Regions from separate parts of the Homo sapiens genome. Here region 1 is linked to region 2. The links are contacts of gene promoters, found by promoter capture Hi-C in blood cells and fetal thymus (Javierre and others, 2016). All regions are on one chromosome and are shown on one strand. Each heading gives the region's core, a stretch centred on a gene start or on the middle of the fragment in contact. The rest is flanking DNA. Distances are from core to core; before and after follow the strand shown. Region 1 holds the start of ADAMTSL2 (ADAMTS like 2). Region 2 has its middle 4.6 kb from the start of VAV2.

Region 1 (7,586 bases), core at 984-3,483, 460 kb after region 2:
CTAGGAGCCAAGATGGGTTCTGGGACCTGGGGCACGTGCCCACACGGCTCCCTCCAAGCCAGTCCATCTGAGAGTGATCACAGCACCTGGGTAGGGGACTGGCATGGGCCCTCAGACCACAACACCCCACTCACCGTGGACCCGGTTGACACTGTGTCCCCAGCTACAACTGCCAGAACCAGCAGGAACCAGGCCCAGCAGGAACATTGCCATCTGCCATCCATCCTAGGAAGCAAGGCCACTGTCACCACCAGGCCAGCTCCGATCCTCTTCCAGATGACCAGGGTACGCTTTGGGAAGAGCCCTCGGGGCCCAGCCAGTGCCCAGGCCTCAAGGTTATCTGGGACTAGTTGGTCGTGGTTGTCTGGCAGACCCTGTTGGGAAGGATGAACCCCCCGCCTCAGTCTAGGCTTAGCAAGAAGGAGCTTGGTGAATGATTAGTAATGCCTGCTTCAGGCAAGACACCCAGCGGCGGTGTGCGTGCTAAGCCTGTGCCACCCTTGATCCAAGGGCATGCAGGGAAGCATGCCATGCTTTGCCTCCAAGTCCTCAAGCCCCCTAGAGAAGGGCTGTGGAGACAGCCAGCCTCGGCTGAGGGGGCTGGGGACCCAGGCGGGGGGAAAGGCTCTGGTTCGAAGGGATGGGCCTGGGCTCAGTCCAGCGCCTTGGCAGGAGCACCTTGGGATTTTAACTGGCTCAGCTCTTGCTGGCCTCGCAGGAGAATGGCCTCTGCCACTGGCTGCTAGGGTCAGTGCATGGGGATGGGCTTGGCCAGGTCCCGGGGGAATGTGCAGCCTCGCCCTAGACCAGCAGCTCCACAGTCAGCATCCAGCAACAGCCGGCACTCAGGTGAGGCAGAACCCAGGTACCTATGCCGCCTCCCGATCCCCGGAGAGAAGATGGAATTGGGGGAGGGGCAGGGCAGGAGGAGGTGCAGTTTGTGCCAGCATGTCAGCAGTCCAGGGCCACAAGGCTGACTTCCTCCCAACAGCCAGCACCCTTGGCTCAAAACACCTGCCAGGGGTCAAAGCAAGCCCATTGGAAGGGACTGTCCAGCCTCCAGGCCCTCAGCTCTCCCCACCCCCTCCTCAGCGTCGACCCTGCCCTGTGGAAGGGAAGACCAGAGATCCACCATGACCTCTGTCCAGGCCTTGCTCAGGTGCTGAGGGTCACTTGCCAGCGAGTTAGAGAAGGGATTTCAGAAACCACGCAGCCTGCACTCATAACCTGGAGCCCAGAGAGGGGAGCCAACCTGCTCAAAGCCACACAGCAAGGTAGCACACTAGCAAACTCAGGGACTCGACCCCCACGCCTGGCCAATTCCAGGGGAAGAAGGCATGGAGGTCACCCCTCACCCCTGCCAGGCCAGAGGCCAACTCGGGCTCTGCCCCTCCCTCCTCAGCAGCCTCCATCCAACTTGAAGAGTTTCCTTGCAGGCCCGGCACCTGCAGATTTTCAGGGGCCACTCCAAGGACACCACTGCAGCCCGGACGACGCAGCAGTGCACCCTGGAGTGGGGAGCCTGAGTCTGACCTCCCCTGCCCCCGCCGCCTGCCCCCCACCTCCCTCCCCTGCAGACCTCCATCTGCACTCTCAGCCTCACACCCACAGGAGCCCCCTCCACTGTGCCATTGGCTAACGGGTGCCCCAGCCTCTGCCTGCCGGCTGAAGACAGGTGCCAGCCGGCCTCACACTTGCTTTTTTCATTAAGGCTTCCAGACACCACTGGCTTCTGGCCAGGCCTCGCTCACGGGGATCCATCCCTCCCTGGGGTCCAAAAGCAGCGGCTGGCGGCAGCAGAGAGGTCTGCCGTGCACACAGAGCTCCGGGCGCACAAGGCTAGGTGCTGGGAGGCCACCCTGCCCCGTGCTCTGCGGCCCGACCCCTCCCCACAAGCCTCCCCACGTTATGTAACGGCTCCAGAGGGCGCGGGGTGCTCCTACCCCCAGCCCCACTCTGAGCAGTGGGCTGGCCTGGTGGACGCTGCAACGTGAGGGGGACGGGGACGAGGTGGCCTACCTGGCTTCGGGTCAGCAGGTTGTCCTCCCAGAGAAAGGGGCGAGCGCTGCGGAGGGCAGACGGCGCCAGGTGCGCTGTGCGTGCGGGGGCGGCGTGAGTGCAGAGGCTGCGGCCCGGCCTCCCTCTCCCCTTCCCCTCCTCCCCCGCGCCGCCTCCCTCTCCCACTTCAAAGAGCATCCAAGAGAGGGGGTTCCCGGGAGGGGCGCAGCCCAGTGGCGGCTCTGCGCCGGCGGCCGCCTTTATAGCTGTCAGGCAGACGGGGAGGAACACTCACACTTCCCACCAGGCCGCTCCCCCGCCCGCGCCGGCCGGCCTGGCGCACACTTTAACCCGCTCTGCGCCTCTGGAGCCCGGCCAGGCCGGCCCAGCTGCCTGTTGGCTGCTGCCGGCGGCGGCGGCCCAGGAGCGGCGAGCAGGGAGGCCTTCTTCCCGGGTCCAGAACTGGGGGCCACATGTCGGGTGTCCAGACGGAGCAGCCGCTGGCCTGAGGTTACCGGGGAGGCTGGCGGTGGCAAAGCCCCAGCCCCGCCTGTCCGGCTTCTGCCTCCAGAGCGGGCCCTGTCCCTGGGGCTCCTGAGAATGGGGTCTGGGATGTATGAGGTGTCCCGTCTGATGGCTCCGTTGTACGGAGGGAAAGGCTGAACTTCCGGGACGACCGTGCCCCAGGTCACGAGCCTCAGAAAGCTCCCGAGATGCAGGGGCCTAAGCAGGTGGAGGGACGCAGGGAGACCCAGCGAGAATGAACCAAGGGCTCCAGGGAGGAGACAGATGTGCCCGTGGCCTGCTGACCAGATGGCTAGAGCAGCCAGGGCCAGGGCAGAGAGGCTCAGGGATTCTGCAGATGTCCAGCACCAACTTGGCAGCCCCTGGCAGGCCAGGCCTGGAGCTCAAGCCTCTGTTCCTGCTGAGTCAGGGCACAGAGGGGAGCGAGAGTGGGTGGAGCAGCAGAGCCCCCCTGGGAAACTCCCGGCGGGCCCCAGACTTTGTGAGGCTTTCCTAAAGCAAGGCTGGGCACCTAGCCTCTGCACACCAGCTTCCCCAGAGCCCATCCTCGGCAAACAGAGGCACCTCCAAAAAGGGGAGGAGGAGGAAGCTGGGGCACCATTCCATCAGGTCATCTGTGTCTTTTCATCCATGCCCCTGCCTCCATGCAGCAGATGTCCTGGGCCCACAGCAGTGCCGGGAAGACACTTCTCCTTCCCTCTGTCCTCCCTGCTGGAAGAAACTTGTGAGTTCCTTCAGCTGCCTTCATGAGAAAGTTCTGCCCTGTGTCTGACCACCCACCAGAAAGGCTGGGAAGGAAAGCCACCAGTAATAGTAGTGAAAGCGATAATACCGTCTGCCCTCTGTCCAGCTTGTCCTACGGGCCCAGAGCTGTGAGGCCAGATCCACCTTTATGATCTGCATTTCACAGGTGGAAGAACTGAGGTTCGGGGACCAAGTCACCTCTCCAGTAGGCAAGGCTGGGATGCCAGCGCTCCTGAGTGTCGGGTTCTCTCCTCTGCCGGGTTGTTTAAGTTTCTCTCCCCGGGACCCTCGGGCAGGCAAGTCTTATTCATCTCATTCTCCTGCTGGGGCAACTGGGATGCAAGGTGGCTGCTCCTAGTCACAGGGCCACCTGCGGTGTGGAACCAGGACTAACCCTAACCCTAACCCAGGCCCACACTGCCCCCTGGGGTCGCTGTGCTGAATCACAGACATGGTGGCACCTGTCACCCAGCACACACACACACACACACACACACACACACACAGGCACACACACACCCAGTCCCTCTCACATGACCGGATTACACTCGCTCTGGGTGCCTCTGCCATCCCCTTCCTCTCTCTTCTGGTGACCGCCAGGCCTCGCACCCCTTGGCACAGTCCCCGAGCTCTCCTGGCGTTTGTGGCCTCACATCCAGCCAGCGCCAGGGTGACTAACGGTTTCCCTTGGGAGGGACCCCACAGCCGACCAACACAAACACCCCCAGTGTCTTCTCTTGGCTCAGCAGGACGGCACAGGCTGCAGGCTGGCCACCTGGGAGACGGGTCTGTGGGGCCAGCCATCCCCTGGCTCTGTGACCTCCTGCAGGTGTGTGACCCTCCAGGCCCCAGCTCCCCTGGCCAGCCACACTTCCACACCACCCCCACCCCTTACCCCAGAGCCTGCAGACTTGAGGCCCACAGGGAGCCATGACTGGCACGTAGCAGGTGCTCTGGTAGCTCCTGATGCCAGGGGCTCCTTACCCCTTAGAGAGTGCTGTTGAGGTGAGTCCCCCACTCTCCAGGATCCCTCTTCGGCCTGCAAATTCCCGGCCTCTCAGGGCCTTCCCCATGTAGGATGGTCTCAGCCCACACCTACCGGCACTTGTAGGGGTGTTGCAGCCGTATGGCCCTGGTGCTGGAGACACCACCTGCCTTTAGAAGGGGATTGTTGGCCAGGCGCAGTGGCTCATGCCTATAATCCCAGCAGTTTGAGAGGCTGAAGCAGGGGGATCACACGAGGTCAGGAGTTTGAGACCAGCATGGCCAACATGGTAAAATCCTGTCTCTACTAAAAATACAAAAATTAGCTGGGCGTGGTGGCGGGCACCTGTAATCCCAGCTACTCGGAAGGCTGAGGCAGGAGAATTGCTTGAACCTGGGAGGTGGAGGTTGCAGTGAGCCGAGATCTCGCCGCTGCCCTCCAGTCTGGGTGAAAGAGTGAGATTCCGTCTCAAAAAGAAAAAAAGAGAGAGAAAAAAAAGAAGGGGATTTTCTCCGCCAGTGTTTTCCAGATATCTGAGGAGCTTAGAAATAGGACAGCAGGAATATGTGTGGGGGATGCCCGGGAGGGTGGGGTTCCAGGGAAAACACGGCGGGGATAGAGAAGCAGGCTTGAGGCAGAGGGGCTGGTGGGCCGTGGCTGACCACTTTGGAGGTTCCCTGGGGAGGATGTTAGGCTGCCGCAGTGGGAGCAGGGCCTGTCCTCACAGCAAAGTGGCCACAGCAGGCTCGGGAGTTTAAGGACGTGGCCCGAGCTGTCGAGGTGGGTCCCCTCTCTGTCACCCAGAGGCCTAGCAGGCCTGGCAAATGTATGTGTGTAGTGTGGTTCACCTAGCCGATAGGGCTGGCCGGCCACAGCCTCAAGAGTGGCCCACCAATACCACCTTCCCTGGCATCCTGCGGTTCTTCTCTGTTGCCAGCCCAGGACCCAGAACATCCTAGGAGCCTCCTGGGCAGACCCAGCCAGAGTTCTCACACCTGACTGGGACGGGGCCACCAAGGGACCATGTGGCCAGCTGGGAGGTGGCTGGCAGCCCCGGAAGAGGACCAGGACTCAGAAGGCAGCCCCAGGGAAAGAGCGAGGGGGCCTCAGCAACCCCAAGAGCCGTCCCTGTCCCCGAGCTTCCTTCCTGGCCCAGGATAGAAGCCAGCTGTCCCTGAGACCCCCCTGGGGCTGGATATACGGGAAGAGCCTCCCCCGCCTTCCCTGGCTGGTCCCAGGTCCATGCACGACCACTGGCTGGCCAGGTCACTTCAGGCCACTTGTCCCTGACAGGCCGAGTTTCCTGGTCTGTTGCACAAGGTCAAGGTCCTTTTTTAGCCCCAGACATCTCACAGGCACACTCAAGAGACAACTGAGACAAAAGCAGAGGTGGGGGCTCCTGCTTCCCCTCTTCTCCCCAGCAGCCCTGAGGCCCCTTCTGGGCACCAGGACTCCTGGAAGCATCATCTGAAAGCTGGCGGACCGGAAGAACCCCAGCCCCCAGCAGCCCCTCGGGCTCTGCTCGCACACGGCCATGACCTCCAGAGATGCCCCGTGTCAGGGATATCTGCTGGGGGCAGGAGGACATCACCAAGCCAGTGAGCTCTTTCTTCCATGCCACCCACAGTGACCAGGGGCGGGCAGCCACTGGTGTCACAGCCAGGTGAAGCAGGAAACCCAGGACCTTGGATCCCGACACTCAGAAGGGCCCCGTCTCAGAGGCTTAGCGTGGAGGCTCAGCATAGGAAGCAGCAGCTCTTCCAATAGCACAGCAACAGCAGCCTCACGCGTGAGTGCCTGGAACCGGACTCTTTGGGTTCAAATCCTGACTCCGTCTCTCTCCAGCTGGGTGACTTTGGGCGAGGGCAGAAGCTTCTCTGTGCCTCAGCTTCCTCACCTGTAAAGTGGCGGTGATAAGGCACTCCCCATGCTGGACTCTTGTGAGGCTGAAATGAGTCCATATGGGAGAAGGGCCTGGGATGGTGGTGGAGAAAGGAAGGGCTGCACGTGCTTTGCTCTGAGCCCAAAGGGTAGCCCGGGGCCAGTGTCTACTCTGCTGTCATCCTCCATCCTGACAATGCCACATCAGGTAACACTGCCACGCCCAGACAGAGAAGGAAGCTGAGGCCAAGGCTTGGACCCCGCCTGAGTCCAAGTGGACTTTCTCAGCCTGGCCAACTTTCTCACATTGTCTCTCGAGTGTGCCTGTGAGATGTCTGGGGCTAGGATGGGGTGCCTGTCATTGGTCCAGGATGGGGTGCACCTGGGTCCCAGGAGAGCCCAGAGCAGCAGGACGTGCTCAGCCTCCCCACCAGGACCAGCAGCGGGACCCTCCCCGATGGCCTCCACTGCTGTTCCTGGAGCCCAGGGCCTTGCGAGCCCTGACTCAGCTTCTCCTTTCCCTGCAAGCCCAGGGATGTGGTGCCCAAGAGGGGCAAGTTTCCACGTAGAGAGGCAAGCTGGGGCAGACAAGAGGCTGGGACCAACAGGGACGCAGGGCCTGCAAAGGGGTCAGGAGCAGCCTTTGGTTCACTGAGAGGTGTGGGTCTGGGCTGGCCTGCTCTCCGTCCTCCCAGCACACACACAGGACTCCGATTCCCCTCTGGGAGTGCTCCCTGCCAACATCAACCCTGCTGTGGCTCAGCCCACGGGTGGAGAATGGACATCCCTGGGTGGTACACCTATGCCCCCGATCAGAGCCTGCCCTGAGGAGGGGACTGCAGCCCCCAGGGGTGACCAGCTGGTGCCGGACCACAGAACTTGGTTTCTCCTCCTCCTCTTCCTCCTTCTTTCTCAGCCAGGAGCACTGGCGTTTTCTGTTAGGCCAACGCTGAAAGCTCGAGCTGGGGGAGCTCATGTCTATGGCTAACAGAGACTGCTTAGGCCACTCCTGGTCTGAGACTCTAGGAGAAAGAGGCTCCTCTGTCTCCAGATCTGGAGCAGGGATAGGGACCTGAGCAGCCCTGGTGTGGCTGTGGCCTGAGGTCAGGCAGAGCCCTGCTGTCTGGGAGACAGCTCTGGGAGGAACCACAGCCAAGATGAAAGGCTTCCCAGCAAGCCTGCAAAAGAGTCTCCTGCCCGCAAGAGCTCCCCGACAGTATCCCCGCCAGCTGCAACCCTGCCACAAGTCTCGTCCCCAAGGGCAGGCTGGGTCCCGGGAGCTGAATTCTCAGGTCCCCAGAAGAAACTGTGGGCTGGGGCTGCTGCTGACCCAGGTGTGGCTGTCCCCTCTCAGTCACACTCAGTGAGTGGCACTTGCCAGGCACCATCCCACAGCCCTGCAAAGGGGAGCAGGTAACAGACGTGTAGCTCAGGCAAGCCCAGGTTCGAGCCC
Region 2 (7,132 bases), core at 3,792-6,291:
CGGAACAGGCAAATCCATAGAGACAGGAAGCAGCTTAGTGGTTGCCATGGCTGAGGATGGGCAGGGTTGAGGAGGGCAGCTAAGGGATACGGGGTCTCCTTTGGGGGTGGCAGAAATGTCCCAGAGTTGGAGTACGTGAGCTGTGGTCTGGCAGGGGTGCTGTCTAGCAGGGTAGGGGTGGGTATGTCTCCTTGGCAGTGCCCTTACTGCGCCTCAGGAGGTGCTGTGGCTAGAGGACAGCTGGAGGGGCCCAGGACAGGGTGGCATTGAATGCCATTAAGGGCATGGACAGGCTTAGAGCCCAGTGTCCCTTGGCCGTGTCTTCCTAGCACCAGGGTGTGCTGCCTCCCTTTCAGTAAGAGCCAAAGTTTCCAGAGTTCGGCAGGCTGAGTCTGCCAAGGACCACATTCAGGAGGCTCCCCAGCCTCCCCCTTGTATCGCATAACTCATAACCCATTCCCATAACTCACAGCTGGCCATGTGGGTCTTGGCTCATCCTCCTAGCTGGTCTGGGCCTCGCCTCCCTCTCCTGCTTTGGGTTGGCCTGCTGGGCTGTGATGAGAGGGCTCCTGCAGAGATCCCAAGTCCACCTCCACACGCTGCCCAGCCTCTGGCCTACACTTGCATGAAGTCCGTTCACATTCACGGAGGGAAGACTGTTTCCCCCTTCCTTAAAGCCTTGATTAGGTGACCCTGAACTCATGAGCTCAAAGACTCCAGGCAGTGCTCACAGAAAACTGCCCCGGTCTCCTAAATAGTCACTGGAAGGTGTCCAAACAATGGCCACTTGGCAGTGAGATTTCAGAGATTTCAGTTTAGGGTACGATCCATGGATTATGGCATTTGATTTAATTTTGAAAGTTGAACAAGAAGTAAAAAATCTATATTTTGCCCTTTCAAACAAAATGTAAAAGCCCCCACCCAATAATTCAGTCAGGCATACTCTGACTGCATGGTGGGCCAGATGGTCTTTTTCTACACCTATAATTTCCCAGGAAATTGTGACAGCTGAATTTGCATGATGTAGCTACAAATGGAATTTGCACAATGTGTGTGTTCATGTGGTTTGGACATGAGAATAATTCCTTTATCCCATCATGTTGGGAAGAGTCAAAACATTCACTTGCCCTTCCTCATGAACAAAGCCAGTGCTCAGTCAGTATTTTCTATGTGGAGGATGGAGGATGGGTGGAGGGATGTGAGGGATACACAGAGGGATGAATACAGGGATGAATGGAGGGATGGGTGGGGGAGGGGTGGAGAGATGAATTTAATGGATGGAGAGATGAATAGAGAGATGGATGGGTGGATGGATGGAGGGATGGGTGGATGGATGGAGGGATAGGTGGATGGATGGAGAGATGGGTGGAGGAATGGATGGGCGGAAGAATGGGTGGAGGGATAGATGGAGGGAGGGATGAATGTGGGGGTGGGTTGAGGGATGGATGGGGGAGTAATGGGTGAAGGGATGGGTTGAGGGATGGGAGAAGGAGGGAGGGACATAGGAGGGGTGAGTGGAAGAATGAATGGAAGGATGGGTGGAGGGATGGGTGGACGGAGGGATAGATGGAGGGAACAGTGGAGGAATGGATTGGTGGAAGGATGGAGGGATAGGTGGAAGGATGGGTGGAGGGATGGGTGGACGGAGGGATAGATGGAGGGAACAGTGGAGGAATGGATTGGTGGAAGGATGGAGGGATAGGTGGAAGGATGGGTGGAGGGATGGGTGGACGGAGGGATAGATGGAGGGAACAGTGGAGGAATGGATTGGTGGAAGGATGGAGGGATAGGTGGAAGGATGGGTGGAGGGATGGGTGGACGGAGGGATAGATGGAGGGAACAGTGGAGGAATGGATTGGTGGAAGGATGGAGGGATAGGTGGAAGGATGGGTGGAGGGATGGGTGGACGGAGGGATAGATGGAGGGAACAGTGGAGGAATGGATTGGTGGAAGGATGGAGGGATAGGTGGAAGGATGGGTAGAGGGATGGATGGAGGGAGGGATGGGTGGAAGAATGGATGGAAGGATGGGTTGAGGGATAGATGGGGAAGGATGGAAGGATGTAGGAGGGATGGGTGGAAGAGTGGATTCCAGGATGGGTGGAGGGATGGATAGAGGGAGGGATGGGTGGAGGAATGTGGGAGGGATGGATGGAGGGGTGAATGGAGGGAAGGACGGCGGGATGGGTGGAGCGATGAGTGGAGGGATAGGTGGAGGGATGGGTGGAGGGATGGGTGGAGGGATGTGGGATGGGTGGAGGGATGTGGGATGGGTAGAGGGAGGGATGAGTGGAGGGATGGCTGGAGGGATGTGGGATGGTTGGAAGGAGGGATGGGTGGAGGGATGTGGGATGGATGGAGGGAGAGATGGATGGATGGAGGGATGGATGGAAGGAGGGATGGGTGGAGGGATGGGTGGAGGGATGGGTGGAGGGATGGGTGGAGGGATGTGGGATGGATGGAGGGAGAGATGGATGGAGGGAGGGATGGATGGAGGGATGGAGGGAGGGATGGATGGAGGGAGGGATGGGTGGAGGGATGTGGGATGGATGGAGGGAGGGATGGGTGGAGGGATGTGGGATGGGTGGAGGAATGTGAGAGGGATGGATGGAGGGATGGGTGGAGGAATGTGGGAGGGATGGATGGAAGGAGGGATGGATGGAGGGATGAGTGGAGGAATGTGGCATGGATGGAAGGATGGGTTGAGAGACGGATGGATGGAAGAGTGGGTAGCAAGATATAGGAGGGATGGATGGAGGGGCAGGTGGAGGGATGATGGACAGACTCCAGCCTTGGGCGGAGCTCCTTTGAAGAAGCTTCAGTCTATCCCTGGGATGCTGGCTGTGGAATGAGGGTCCCCTGAGCCTTGGACCTTTTGATGAAAAGTACTGAGACCTTGCAGCAGGTCTTGGTGTTTTTTGGGGGAATACTGGACTGAGACAGTGCCCACTCTGGCTGTATGGAGGTTCTCTGGGAGGGCCTGTATGGAAAGAAACAGTCTTGAGTGAGAGGTAAACTCTCAAGCCCTTCCACTGTGGCATGTAACGCGCTAAGGGACACATGTATTCCTGTTCAGAAACCAGACCCTGGGGCTGCCCAGAGAATGAGGACACCAATTTGATGAGGGCAGCTCTGCAGAAACCCAGGGGAGGGGCGCTGGGCCGGTCGTGGACTCAGATTGTCCTGTGCCACTGCCCTTGAAATCATTATTTATCAGTAGAAAACAAAAGCAAACCTCTCAGCTGGAGGCATAGGAGAAGGTGGACCTGAGTTCGAATCTGAACTCTGCCAGTTGCATAACCTTGGCCAAGTCACTCAAGCTATGTGAGCCGACCTCATCTGTAGCACAGTACGATGACAGTCCTCGCCTCCTAGGGTGTGGGTGGTCCTGGCTCAGGGCCTGGGTGCAGGAAGGACGTGCTGAGTTGTAGGTGGAGCATCACTCGTGGTGTGAGTGACTGGGCAGAGAAGCCAGAGGGGAAGCCCAGCCATGCTGCCCACATAAGGGCAGCCACCTGTCTACCCACTCCTTCCTCCAAAGGTCTCCTCTCTGGGACCCCGAGGATCCAAGAGTCACCAGGTTTCCAGGACCTCCAGGATGCGTGGATATACTTCCAGCTGCCCTTCCCTCCTTTAAGTCAGTGTCGGACCCTTCGGCTCCCGTTTCTTAGCCTTGCTACTCCTGCCTGTACTAAGGGCTCATTTCGGTACCACAGTGGCGGGGCGGGGGGGTGTGCCTGTGGGCTCCAGGCACTGCGCTCTGTTGCTGACTCCGTATCCACGTGTTCTAGACATCAGATCATTTTCCCTCCCTCGTCACCTCCCCACCCACATCAGTGCATTAAGGGAAAGCAGAAAGTTCTAGGCGTGGAAAGCCCTTTCAGCAGCAGCCTCTATTTAGGGGTGCACACAGGTGTCAATAAGGCCTGGCGTTTGGACTTGGCTTTTTCCTGTGTTGCTGGGTGACCTTGGGCAGCTCACCAATGTGCTTGGTGAGCTGGTTTTTATGTTGGACCACTCAGTACAATAACAGTGACTAGAAGTGATGGAGTGGCTTGTGGTTTAAAGGAGGTGACCATCACCTAGGCCGGCCACTCAGACTCAAGACACAGGATTGGTTACTGCAACTATGAATGCTGTTAAAATATAACGGCTTGAAAGTGACAATGTGCGACGTAACTGCAATCTTACGTAGTGTAACGTTAATTCACATAGCGATAGTGTTAAAATATGCCACAAGTCAATAAATAAGATTATATTGCCTTTTATTTTTTATTTTTTTTGAGATGGGGTCTCACTTTGTCACCCAGGCTGGAGTGCAGTGGTACGATCTCGACTCGATGCAACCTCTGCCTCCTGGGCTCAAGTGATCCTCCCACCTCAGCCTCCCAAGTAGCTGGGACTATAGGCGTGCACCACCATGCCAGGCTAATTTTTGTATTTTGGTGGAGACAGCGTTTCACCTTGTTGCCTAGGCTGGTCTTGAACTCCTGGACTCAAGGGATCCACCCGCCTCAGCCTCCCAAAGTGCTGGGATTACAGGCATGAGCCACCACGTCCAGCCTCCGATTACATTGCCTTTTATAAGCTGTCTTTGGATCAGTTTAACGCATCTGTGGCTTCCATGAAAGAATATATTGGATTTAAAAATTACAATTACAGTGATTTGCTAGATTTTACCTCCAGTGAGGCGGGAGCCCCGAGGTGCCCATCCGCGCAGAAGAGAGACAGGGTGTCACTGAGGGCCGACTGGGTCCTTGCTGGCTGCGGAGGACAGGTGGAAGGGTGGAAGCGGGTCCAAGGAGAGGGGGCCTGGGGCTTGGTGGGGGTGGGCCAGGAGGGGGCAGATGCTGGACAGAACAGGAAGGTGGACTGCTGGGACTCGCTGCCCACATGGCTGCCGGGGAGAATGAGACAGGAGCTCAGGAGGACACTGCGGTTTATTGTTCAATGCCTGAGATCATGGCAACACTGAATTCCTTTGTGGTTTAAAAATCAACTCCTGTCCAAGCTCTCCATCCTCCATGTCACCCTCTCCTAGTCACTGCAACCATGATCAATCTCTGGTTGTCAACTCAAACCTCAGTTTCTCCTGGAAGCCTTGCTGCTCCCTCCCCGGGTGTGCCCTGCCTGGTGCCCTCCTCCGCCACCTGTGACCCTCCCCCATACTTGGGGTATGTGGCCCATGCTGGCACTTCTTGCTCCCTGGTTTAATCTGCTCGGCTGGACTGGCAGCTGCTCACTGGCAGTCTGTGTAAGCAGCTCCCCCTGGAGCCCATCTCCAAGGTGTGATGGGACTCTCGCCCCCTGGAGGTGTGCAGCAGGCAGTCCTGGCAGACAGCCCTGAGTCCAAGTGGACATGGATGGTGGTAGGATTTTCCCAAACAGCGTCCTCTCTATTAGTCTTCCTGGCATGTGCCTTGAGTCCACAGTCTCAACCTGTTCATCATTACACTCACACTAAAGGTTACAAAGGGAGCTCCTGCCCCATTTTCTTTACCTTTTATTTTATTTTTGAGACAGGGACCCACTGTGTTGCCCAGGCTGGTCTTGAACTCCTGGACTCAAGCCATCTGCCTGCCTGAGCCTCCCAAAGTGCTGGGACTACAGGCTTGAGCTGCTGTACCTGGCCCCACCAAACTTTTGTTCTTTGATTCACATCCATCCTGCCCTCAGAGCCTCCAAGGATTCTGGGAGGTGCACAGGGCCGGTGAATGTCCTATGCCGATCAGGACCTGGGAACCAGGGAGGCCTGAGTGGCTCAGGGCCACTGTGGTGAAGTCTGTGTCTCCTGAGTTGGGTCTTCTCAACGGTCAACCCCAGATTTTCTGTGCAGCCCCTCCTGGGTGCAGCCAGGTGCCCCGTGGTGACAGCACCACCAGGGGGCAGCAGGTACCCATGGCATTGTTGGCGGGCGGCTGCCTGGGTCCCAGACCTGGCTGGTCCTCTTGGCCAGAGCAGGCAGGCCCAGGACCGTGAGGACAGAGGCCCCCTTCTTGCTGAGGGAGCCACCTGGGGAAAGAGACATTTAGTGCATCAATGCGCCGGCGGTCCAGGCGAGGGGTTGGGAGAGTGGGTAGCTCTTCTTCCTCTCTGAGCCCTTTCTGTCCCAGCACAGTGGGAAGCCTCTGGGTAATTTATCCGTCCATTCTTCACAAGCAAGTCCAGTGGGAGCCGGGTCTCCCCGCTCTAGAGAGGAGGGGATGAGGCTTTGCAGGAGGAGGGATCAGTGTAGGCTCTCAGATGGGGCTGGAGGGCCCCGCTCAGGTTTCACTCCTGGCTTTCTGATTTCTTAGGGAGATGCTGATGGGTCCACCTGCTGCCCCATCTTGCTTCGGTGAGGAAAGCTCTCCCCCTTGCCCTAAAGGTGCCCACTGCTGCTTCCTCGGGGAAGGGCAAGAGACCTGAGCCCCCGCCTCACCAGCCACCTGGCCTGAGTTTACTGCTGCAGGGGCCAGCTCCTTCCTGACCTCTCTCTACGGGCCAGACCCTAAGCTGGGACCCCCTGCTTCCACCTCAGTGGAGAAGGGGTGAGTCTGACTCTGCAGAGACCAATTTCCAGGACAGGACCCCCATCGGAGGCCCTGGGCCCAGGGGACCCTCTCTGCGCTCGCATCCCCGTTCCGGCCCCTGCGCAGGGAAGCCACGGGGTAAGGGGTCCGGGGGCTGCAGTGCAGCCCCAGCTCATACAGGCCCAGGATTCCACCGGAGTCCAGGGTGGGAGCCCTCAGACACCGCACCCCAGCCTCCGGGCTGAGCCAGTCTCAGAGAAGGGCTTGGACTTGCCTGGTGTCCCCCAGTGAATCAGCAGTGAAAACCCGCGGTTCCCGGCAGCTGAGCCAGGATCCATATAATTTCAGTTGCAGAATCTGTTTGTCCTTGAAGCCCCTCCTACCGTCACACGTTGCCAGCTGGACAGACCGCGCCCCCACCACCCAGGGTGTGGCCTAGAAGGGAGATCAGGGCGGATCAGCACCGGGGCCGGCTGCGACCCTGGGCCGGAGAGCACCTTCCTGCCCTCACTCATGTCACGCATTCCGCCCTGGACGCCAGGAACTGCCCGCTGGGCAGCTGCGAGTGGCCAGGACTTTGGCCAAAAGCTGGGGAATCCTGGCCTTTATGCAGGGTCGGGG

Evidence for each region. The method cuts DNA at HindIII sites, captures the fragments that hold promoters and counts their contacts. A CHiCAGO score of 5 or more calls a contact.
Region 1: the fragment with the promoter of ADAMTSL2 here is called in contact with a fragment that was not itself captured in region 2 in 2 of 17 cell types (M1 macrophages and M0 macrophages); the score reaches 7.4 in M1 macrophages.

Annotation. Positions count from the first base shown.
Region 1 is chr9:133,529,351-133,536,936 of GRCh38, reverse strand. It overlaps ADAMTSL2 (ADAMTS like 2), which reads right to left and starts at 2,233. Exons shown (of 19, transcript NM_014694.4): 1 at 2,020-2,233; 2 at 135-374. The coding sequence starts at 224. RefSeq lists enhancers at 1-122, 663-1,204, 1,745-2,286, 2,287-2,826, 2,827-3,368 and 1 more and a silencer at 3,627-3,716. The HindIII fragment of the contact is 12,534 bases long and covers 1-6,126 here.
Region 2 is chr9:133,993,322-134,000,453 of GRCh38, reverse strand. No RefSeq gene overlaps it. Among named protein-coding and RNA genes, the nearest start is that of VAV2, 4.6 kb to the right of the region's middle. RefSeq lists a silencer at 5,871-5,970 and enhancers at 6,818-7,007, 6,904-7,132. The HindIII fragment of the contact is 4,448 bases long and covers 2,818-7,132 here.